Regions from separate parts of the Homo sapiens genome. Here regions 1 and 3 are each linked to region 2. Evidence: promoter capture Hi-C in 16 types of primary human blood cells and fetal thymus (Javierre and others, 2016). All regions are on one chromosome and are shown on one strand. Each heading gives the region's core, a stretch centred on a gene start or on the middle of the fragment in contact. The rest is flanking DNA. Distances are from core to core; before and after follow the strand shown.

Region 1 (3,245 bases), core at 662-3,161, 600 kb before region 2:
GACAAGAATTTCCCCCTAAAATTCCATTAGTTCTGCAATAACTCTCCCCTGTGGCCCAAACTTCATAAAAATAATTCTTATTCAGTTTTTTTAAAATCACCACATGCTCCAGGGCTCCCCTTTTACTCAACTTTTTCCCCATTTTCCCCCCTATAGAGGAAAAGACCTCTAACTTTAAAGTGCTGACGGAAGGAGAGAAATACGTGGAAAGAACAGGCTTTGAAAATGTTGAGTAAGACCGGGCGTGGTGGCTCACGTCTGTAATCCCTGCACTTTGGGAGGCTGAGGTGGGTGGATCACCTGAGGTTGGGAGTTCGAGACCAGCCTGACCAGCATGAGGAACCCCGTCTCTACTAAAAATACAAAATTAGTCAGGCATGGTGGCACATGCTTGTGATCCCAGCTACTAGGGAGGCTGAGGCAGGATAATTGGTTGAACCCAGGAGGTGAAGGTTGCGGTTAGCCGAGACCGCACCATTGCACTCCAGCCTTAGCAACAAGACTGAGACTCTGTCTCAAAAAAAAAAAAAAAAAAGGAAAAAGAAAAAAAAAGAAAGAAACGCTGAGTAAATAAAAGATAAGGTGGTGCAGTAGTCACTGTTGATGTCCTGCCCATATAACATTGGCCTGCGCCATTCTAGTGCGTACTCACCTCCTCCTACTGCAGGTACCTCCAACTCTCCACATGAGGGCTTTCTCTTGGCTTTGTATGGGGAGGGTCAGAAGCATTGGTAGTTCATGCCTCTGGAAACAGCTCGAAATCAATGATGGACAGGGATTGGTGGATGAATACCCCAGCTTTCTCATTTCTTGCTGGGGATAATTGCTGGGGATAACTAGAAAGGTTTTGTATTCTTTATCGGAGTCCTCATTGGAGTTGAACCCCAGTTGTCCTAGTAGTAAGTTACTTGATAATACATCCTTTATTGGTTTCCTTCCTTTCCCCTTTTTATTGTCCTATTCCCTTATCAGAGCTTTCTGAGATCACTTTTTTTTTAAAATTGAAAACTACTTGCACTGATATTCTTATCTTACGATCTTCTTCTGGAGGCAGCCATCCTGAGACAGGTGGCTATGGAAGGCATTTGAAAGGGGAGTAAGAACATCAGAAACAAACTTTCCCTACTTCGTTGTGACTTGGTTCAGATCTTCCCCTTCTCCTATATTCTTTTCCTGTGGTAAGGCTTTGCAAGAACAGCATTGTTCTATCTAAGCTAGTTAAAATAAAAAGACAAAATAACTGTATGATGAGCATCTAATGGATGGGATACCACATTTAAAAAGACAAAGACTTAGGGGGAAGTTCATGCTTTGTATGGTACTCTGAGAACAAAAATCTATTTCTGATCGATTTCTTCCTTAACATTCTACCCACCCCCAAAACCCCTCACTTCGTAAATCCGGGCAACTATACCTCAGGTTTCAGACAATATGCCTTTGACCTGGGTTGTCTTCAAGATAACCTTGACAAGAGATGAATTCTTAAAGATTTTCTTTAGTGTTCTGTATTTATATTTAATGTTCTGATAATCTGTCGAAGATTCTTCTAGGGCACTGAAGATAGCAAGTAGTCAGAAAACAAATAGTGAAGGGGCTTCCCATGGCAGTTAATGGTCAATACCTGTTGAGACCCCAGAGAAAATAAAAAATGATTCCTAATGATTGCTGGAGGTTGTGGCACTAATGGAATATATTTATATGCATAATTAAAAATGGTATCCTTTTGAAATTCACTGATTTTTGGATGTGTGATTACATTAGGCTTAAGTTTACCTTCCTTACATCTTCTAAAAAAGTGGGGGAAGTGTGTAACTATATTTCAGGGTGCACAAGCCACTATTAATTCTGCCGCCAGGTGGAATCTGAAAGTGGCACCATAATCATCATTTTCCACCTTGAAATTGAGGATGTCTATATGTGTCCTCTGAGTCCTCCTCTCTCTCCACCAGCCCCATAATCACTACCTTGTATCTTCACTTATGTCTCTATCTCCTGCTTTGGTTAGCGGGCTCCTCTAAGGACATAGCTACATTTTAGCTATCTTTAGATTTCAGGCAACAATGAACACATACTGAGTGCTCAGTAAATGGTTGTTGAGTTGAATTTTTAAGAATTTCATGCATCCATTAAATGGAAGTAATCGACTCACTAATTAAAAATGACCTTCACCTTTTATGAAAGGAATTGATCATAGATCTTGACGTTTCCAAACTTTGGTTATTAGTTTGTGCAGTTGGTTAAAAAAAAATTCTTCAGTTCTTAGTAATTATTCTGTAATGTGGAACTATTTTATATATTGTCCTCCCCCTATTGCTTTTCATGTTTAATGATATTTGTTGTATTTCCAAAGGAAAAAAGGGGTTTGGAAGGCCAAAGGGAATTAAAATATAGAATAAAGTGGTATGGAGAGTTTCAGAAAAGGAAGAAGAAAATTTCAAAGGCAAGATAATGTATTCTTGTGAAAGTCTGCGGGAAGTCAGTCTCATTTAGCCAAAATCAACTCAGCACTTACTATTAGCCAAGAACCATGACAAGTAATCTGAGGGATGTAAAGGTTAATAATAGTTCTCAAGAAGCAACCAAAAACTTTAAAAAGTGATCATATTTGCTTAGCGCAAGGATTGATGGAGGTAAGTGGGGCTGACTTTGAAAAACCTGTATTTTAAAAATTACATATACATATTATATTTGGAAAAATACAGTATACATGTATTGATGTGATATAAAAATGAAATGGGCAAAAAGAAGCTGAAGAAGGGCCCAGAAATGGGAGGTGGGATTGGGCAGGAATTTTACTTATTTATTTATTTATTTATTTTTGAGACGAAGTCTTGCAGTGTTGCCCAGGCTGAAGTGCAGTGGTGCGATCTCGGCTCACTGCAAGGTCCACCTCCCGGATTCATGCCATTCTCCTGCCTCAGCCTCCCGAGTAGCTGGGACTACAGGCGCCCACCACCACGCCTGGCTAATTTTTTGTACTTATAGTAGAGATGGGGTTTCACCAAGTTAGCACCTGAAATCTCAAAACACGGGGGTTTGAGGTCAGGAGATCGAGACCATCCTGGCTAACATGGTGAAACCCCATCTCTACTAAAAATACAAAAAATTAGCCGGGCGTGGTGGTGGGTGCCTGTAGTCCCAGCTACTCGGGAGGCTGAGGTAGGAGAATGGTGTGAATCCGGGAGGTGGAGCTTGCAGTGAGCCGAGATCGTGCCACTGCACTCCAGTCCGGGTGACAAAGCGAG
Region 2 (3,157 bases), core at 69-2,568:
CAGCATTCACTTCCAGGACCTACCCACCTGGCCAGCTCGGGCCCTAGGGGCAAGGAGAAAAAGGAGGAAAAGCTCCAGGAACTCACATTTCGGTGATGTTCTCAGGATCTACACTGTTAGGCTCCAATCTCGGAAATGCCACGATGCCAGGAGAAGGGTCGCTGCACCAGATCCGAGAGGCACTGCATTTGCAGGACGTGGGACAGGCGAAAGCGGCCCTCCAGAAGCCCACAACCAGCCAGCAGAAGCCCCAGAGCCGCGCCATGGCGGGTCCATGCCACCTTATCCAGGACGACATCCCTAGCAGCCAGTGCCAGCCCGAGTGCCTGTCCCCGCGCTGCACCGGCCGCTTTCCCCCACCCGTGCGGGGAGGCCTTCCCTGCGCTTGCGGCTCTCTTAACTCCTCGGTGCTTGTTGCGGGCGTGCCGAGTCCAGCTTATCAGAGGCTGAGCTGGTCCGGAGCGAAGAGTGTTCCGGCAGGCGGCAGGGTTCACAGTGGCCCCGGCATAGCGAACCGCTTTACAGGGGGGCGCTACCGCTGCTCGGAGCTCCGCGGCGGCCGTCGCTGCATGGCCCGGCGCGCCGGGCACCGACCGGCGGCGCTCCCGGGACTCTCTGGGGCGCAGATTCCTTGTTAGATGCGAATGGGGGTCCGGTATGCACCTCGAGGCTGAGGACAAACAGACACGCGTAAGACTGAGCGTAGGACCCCCAACACCACTAATTGGGGCACTCTCCCTCTCTGCTCGCGTCATCCCCACCCCGACCCCAGCCCGGAGACTGTGGATGGATGAGTGCCCAGCTCCGGCCCAGGAATCAACTTGCCCCGCGATGGCACTGACGCCGCTGGAGCCACCAGTGTGCCCACTCTCTCTTCGAGCCTGAGGCCAAGGGAGGGGAGGTAGGGAAAGGGTCCCCAAGACAGGATTCCATGGTACAGGCCGGGCGAAGGACCCTTTAAAGGGGAATGCGGAGACTGCCGGCGGCTTTGGCTCCGCGACGGGGCCCCCGAATGATGCTGCAGAATCCGCCACGGCCGCTGGGTGCCGGTGGCGCGGGCAGGTGGCGCGGCACGTCCCACCTGGGGAGTAGCCGAGGCCGCCCCAGGGGGAGACAGTGAGGGCCGAGGCGACCGAGGGCACTATCTGCGCTGCTCACCCGGGCTCCGGCGCCTCACGCCCGCCGGCGGCGCCTGGGTCCAGGCTCCTGCTACCGCCGGGGACTGAGCGCGTAGAGCGCGAGCGAAGCAGCCAGCGAGGCTCCTGCTCCAACCCAATTCCGGGAGCCGCCGCCGCCGCCTCTGCTACTGCTGGCGAAGTGACGTGAGGGCTGACGCAGAGCAGGGGCAGAAACTCCAGAAAATTAGTCTGAAATCCAAAAACACACACACGCTCATACACACACAAACCCATAACACCCTCCAGACAAAAGCACCAGGGAGGGGAGGGGAATCTGGGGGCGAGCAGGGAGGAGGGAGGCATCGGTGCCACTGGCCAGAAGCAGACAGCAGCAGCATGTGGGAGTTCACACACGCGCGCACACACGCACACATCCTGGCCGTGTAGACATGCACGCGCGTGCGTGTGTGTGTCTGTGTGTGTGTGTGCATTTACATCCAGGTACCTCTAAGATGAACCGTTCCTCCGTTCGACGCCTCCCGGTCCCTAATTCACACCACAGTCTCTTCTACAATCGCGGTAGAGGCTGTCTCCCTTTTTGAAATGGAAACCGTGCTTGGTTCAGCTCTGAAAAATGCGCTGATTCTTATTATAGGAATCCTCCCTCCCTTCTCCCTCCCCGCGTTCTCCTTTCCCACCCTGCCTAAAAGGGAGGGCAAGCTATCCTAAAAATAAATAAATGTTGTAAACACCAAAACGTGTTCTGCATTGGTAACCAAGGATCACCGCCCCCATTCCGGGCCACCTATTTGGGGATCGGTGGTTTTGGAGGGGCTTCCTGTTGGTGCTTTTGCAGAGGGAAGGGAGTCTCCAAACACAATTCTAGCTCTCTAAGTGGGTCTTTTTCCTGCCGTTTTCTGCCATCACACGCCCGGGAAATAGAGACATGTGAGGGGAAGGGAGCGCGCCTGATGCGTATTCTAAATGCTCGGTGGCCACCCTGGCCTGTCCGATGTGTGGCGCCGCGTCATTTTCTCTCATCCTTTAACCTGACGGGATGTAGCCATTCCCAGATCGTGGATTCACTCCCCGCGATGCCCACCCCCACGTAGGGCATCCCAAGCCCTTGCTCCCCTGCCGTACCTTGCGCGTGTTCATGTGTGCTAGGGTGTGCGCGAACGCGTGCCCTGCGCCCGCGCTGCCCGGAGCACGATATGCATCCAGCTACGAAGAAGCCAGGCGCGGGCAGAGCCTCGGGGTCTCACTAGGGACAAATTAGGCGATCCGGGAGGGTCGGGTGACAAACCGTAACTATTCTGCGGGTGCAGTTAAATGATGGCTGCGGGGCATTTGCAAGCCTTGTCTGAGAATCCGTCTTCCCTTTTGCGGCTCGGAATCTGTTTTTCCGCAGTCATTTAAAAGAGAACGGGGAAAATACACCGCAGTGCCTGACACTTCCGAGGGCTCTGGTGCCCCCGCGCGGGGAGAGAGCGCCCGGCACGCTCCGGAGCACCAGCCCATGGCCCGGGTCGCGGCGGGCACAGCGCTGGGGGCGCGCTCTGGCGCCAGATGCGCAACCAGCGGCGCCCGACGCCTGCGCGTCCCTGCCCGGCCGGTGCGCGGCTCTCCTGGCCTCGCCGAGCTCCTGCCCGGGGGAAAAAGGCGGGCAATCCTTCTCTCTCGAGAGAGCAATGGGTTGGAGTCTCGTTCAAAATATAGTAATAGTCACTGATCTACCCGCAGAGTTTGGGGATGGGAAGGATCAAGAAACCGAACGTTAGAGTGAATGCTCGGATCTAGGCCAAGCGTTAAATATTACGAAGGGAACGTAAAACATCTATTGGGGCTTTTTTGTACAGATCCTGGGCGCTGAGTGTAACCGCGGGAATTCTTGGACAGCACCCAAAAATCTTGCTGCAGGTCCCGAAAGCAAGGCCAGCAGGTCTATCTCACCACTGTCACTCGGCTGTAACACACATCGAGTGGTGAACGGCCAGGCTGAAGTTTACTCCTGAGCTGCGCCTCTATTCTCTACTAGG
Region 3 (3,532 bases), core at 331-2,830, 700 kb before region 2:
GCCACCCTACCTTCTCTCCTCCAGCCTGCACCAATGGCCTCATAGGGAGTTCCCTATGATCAGTTGACAGAGGAAGAGAAGACTAGGGCCTGGTTCACAGATGGTTCTGCACGATATGCAGGCACCACCTGAAAGTGGACAGCTGTGGCACTACAGTCCCTTTCTAGGATATCCCTGGAGGACAGCGTGAAAGGAAATCTTCCCAGTGGGCAGAACTTCGAGCAGTACACCTTGTTGTGCACTTTGCATGGAAGGAGAAATGGCCAGATGTGCAATTACATACTGACTTATGGGCTGTAGCCAATGGTTTGGCTGGATGGTCAGGGACTTGGAAGTAGCATGATTGGAGAATTGGTGACAAAGAATGTTGGGGAAGAGGTATGTGGATGGACCTCTCTGAGTTGTTAAAAGCTGTGAAGATATTTGTATCCTATGTGAGTGCTCACTGACAGATGACCTCTGCAGAGGAGGATTTCAATAATCAAGTGGATAGGATGACCCATTTTGTGGACACCACTCAGCCTCTTTCCCCAGCTACTCCTGTCATCGCCCACTGGGCCCATGAATAAAGTGGCCATGGTGGCAGGGGTGGAGGTTATGCATGGGCTTAGCAACATGGACTTCCACTCACCAAGGCTGACCTGGCTACGGCCACTGCTGAGTGCCCAATTTGCCAGCAGCAGAGACCAACACTGAGACTTTGATATGGCACCATTCCTCGGGGTCATCAGCCAGCTACCTGGTAGCAGGTTGATTATATTGGACCTCTTCCATCATGGAAAGGGCAGAGGTTTGTCCTCACTGCAATAAACACTTACTCCAGATATGGGTTTGCCTATCCTGCATGCAGTGCTTCTGCCAAGACTACCATCCATGGACTCACAGAACGCCTTATCCACTGTCATGGTATTCCACGCAGCACTGCCTCTGAACAAGAAACTCACTTTACAGCTAAAGAAGTGTGGCAGTGAGTTCATGCTCATGGAAGTCACTTGTCTTACCATGTTCCCCATCATCCTGAAGCAGCTGGATTGATAGAATGGTGGAATGGCCATTTGAAGTTACAATTACGATCAATTACAATGCCAACTAGATGATAATACTTTGCATGGCTGCGGCAAAGTTCTCCCAAAGGTTGTGTATACTCTGAATCAGCGTCCAATATATGGTACTGAATCTGCCATAGGCAGGATTCACAGATCCAGGAATCAAGGGGTGGAAGTGGAAGTGGCACCACTCACCAACACCCCTAGTGATTCGTTAGCAAAATTTTTGCTTCCTGTTCCCTCTACATTACGTTCTGCTGGCCTAAAGGTCTTAGTTCTAGAGGGAGGAATGCTGCCACCAGGAGACATGACAATGCCATTAAACTGGAAGTTAAGATTGCCACCTGGACACTGTGGGCTCCTCCTACATTTAAGTCAACAAGCTAAGAAGGGAGTTACAGCATTGGCTGTGGTGATTGACCTGGACTGTGAAGATGAAATCAGTCTACTATTCCACAATGGAGGGAAGGAAGAGTATGTATGGAATACAGGAGATCCATTACGGTGTCTCTTAGTATTACCATGACCTGTGATTAAGGTTAATGGGAAACTACAACAGCCCAATCTGGTCAGGACTACAAATGACCCAGGCCCTTCAGGAATGAAGGTTTAGTTCACTCCACCAGGAAAAAAGCTATGACCTGCTGAGGTGCTTGCTGACAGCAAAGGGAATACAGAATGAGTAGTAGAAGAAGGTAGTCATTAATACCAGCTATAACCAGGGGACCAGCTGCAGAAATGAGGACTGTAATTGTCATGAGTATTTCCTCCTTCTTTTGTTAAAAACATGTTTGTGCATGTATACACTTGTACTAAGAAAACATCTTCATTTTATTTCCTTTTTCCTTTATCATGTGACATAAGATTTATTGACTTCACATCAGCATTTAAGTACTGTTAACTTTCTGTAATAGTATTTGGGTTGAGGATTGGTGCATTTCCGGTTGTACGAAGGATAGTTGTATTATGTTAGGTGTAATTATGACCTTATTATTGTCTTTATTTGAAGATTATGTGTGATCTCAGGAGACGTGTATGGGTTCAAGTTGACAAGGGGCAGACTTGTGATGGTTAATACTGAGTGGCAACTTGATTGGATTGAGGGATGCAAAGCATTGATCTTGGGTGTGTCTGTGAGGGTGTTGCCAAAGGAGATTAACATTTGAGTCAGTGGGCTGAGGAAGGCAGACCTACCCTTATTCTGGGTGGGCACCATCTAATCAGCTGCTAGCAAATATAAAGCAGGCAGAAAAACGTGAAAAGGCTACACTGGCCTAGCCTCCCAGCCTACATCTTTCTCCCGTGCTGGATGCTTCCTGTCCTTAAACATCGAACTCCAAGTTCTTCAGCGTTGGCACTTGGACTGGCTTCCTTGCTCCTCAGCTTGCAGATGGCCTATTGTAGGATCTTGTGATTGTATGAGTTAATACTACTTAATAAACTCCCTTTTAAATATATATCTATCCTATTAATTCTGTCCCTCTAGAGAACCACGACTAACACAGAGATAAACAATGAGAACACATGGACACATAAAGGGGAACAATGGACACTGGGGCATACTTGAGGGTTGAGAGTGGGAGGACAGAGAGGAGCAGACAGAATACCTATCAGGCACTTTGCTTATTACCTGGGTGATGAAATAATCTGTATACCAAAGCTCCATGACACATGGTTTACCAACACAGCAAACCTGCACATGTACCTAAAATAAAAGTCAAAAAAAATTTGCTCCAGGACCAAAGAACTTTCCCTGGTTTCTCTCAATGTCAGCACTAGAAACTAAAGTGCACAAAAATCATGGGAAATTCCATTGGCTTTATCAAGCAGTCAACTTTGATCAATCTATGTGAACTGTAAGAATAAAATAGGAATTTGGGGGTTTTAGATATAAAAATCAGCTGTTCATTATCTGAAAAAATATTTGTTAGTGGATCAGACAAAGATTTATGGTATCTATTATCTGTGAAAATGTTTCAAATTGCCTTTTCGAATGCAATAATTGTCTTGTTCCCCGCCCCCCCTCAGTGCATTTAGTTGCTGTCAGATTGTTTGCTTTTTCACTTTGTGGAATTGGAACTTTAAAATAATCAAAGTTTCTCAAGGAATCTTTCCAAGGTTTTGTATTTTTTTCAAATTAAATTCATGAATATTTTCAGAAATGGGAAATAATATTTTGAAAAGCCCCAAATGAAATAGATGTGTTTAAATTATACAGGGTTTGAAAACACAATTTCATTAGATGACAATCTAATATACAATTAGATAAATATTCAAGCTCTTTTGGGTGGGGACATTGGGAGACTGGACATGAGAGGGGGTCCCAGTGAATGCGGATGCACCTCACTTTCCCAAACTTTGCCAATCTTTTCCTCACATGCTTCCCATTGTCTCAGGAGTAGAACCATCAGCGGATGAGGAAGAGCATATGGTTGGCACCTCTGCACTAAACACCACCTAAAAGTGTGGGTAAGGGTGGTTAGGAT

Evidence for each region. Contacts are between HindIII fragments. The CHiCAGO score rates a contact against its expected background, and 5 or more counts as called.
Region 1: a fragment that was not itself captured here is called in contact with the fragment with the promoter of NTRK2 in region 2 in 1 of 17 cell types (megakaryocytes); the score reaches 5.0 in megakaryocytes.
Region 3: a contact is called between a fragment that was not itself captured here and the fragment with the promoter of NTRK2 in region 2, in 1 of 17 cell types (erythroblasts). The highest score is 5.1, in erythroblasts.

Annotation. Positions count from the first base shown.
Region 1 is chr9:85,270,813-85,274,057 of GRCh38, reverse strand. All of the region lies in intron 3 of LOC105376119 (a long non-coding RNA gene), which reads left to right. Among named protein-coding and RNA genes, the nearest start is that of AGTPBP1, 470 kb to the left of the region's middle. The HindIII fragment of the contact is 5,117 bases long and covers 1-3,245 here.
Region 2 is chr9:84,667,890-84,671,046 of GRCh38, reverse strand. It overlaps NTRK2 (neurotrophic receptor tyrosine kinase 2), which reads right to left and starts at 1,318. Exons shown (of 19, transcript NM_006180.6): 1 at 1,159-1,318; 2 at 87-670. The coding sequence starts at 298. RefSeq lists a silencer at 2,574-2,793. The HindIII fragment of the contact is 10,588 bases long and covers 1-3,157 here.
Region 3 is chr9:85,369,175-85,372,706 of GRCh38, reverse strand. It overlaps the pseudogene LOC107987089. Among named protein-coding and RNA genes, the nearest start is that of AGTPBP1, 370 kb to the left of the region's middle. The HindIII fragment of the contact is 5,395 bases long and covers 1-3,532 here.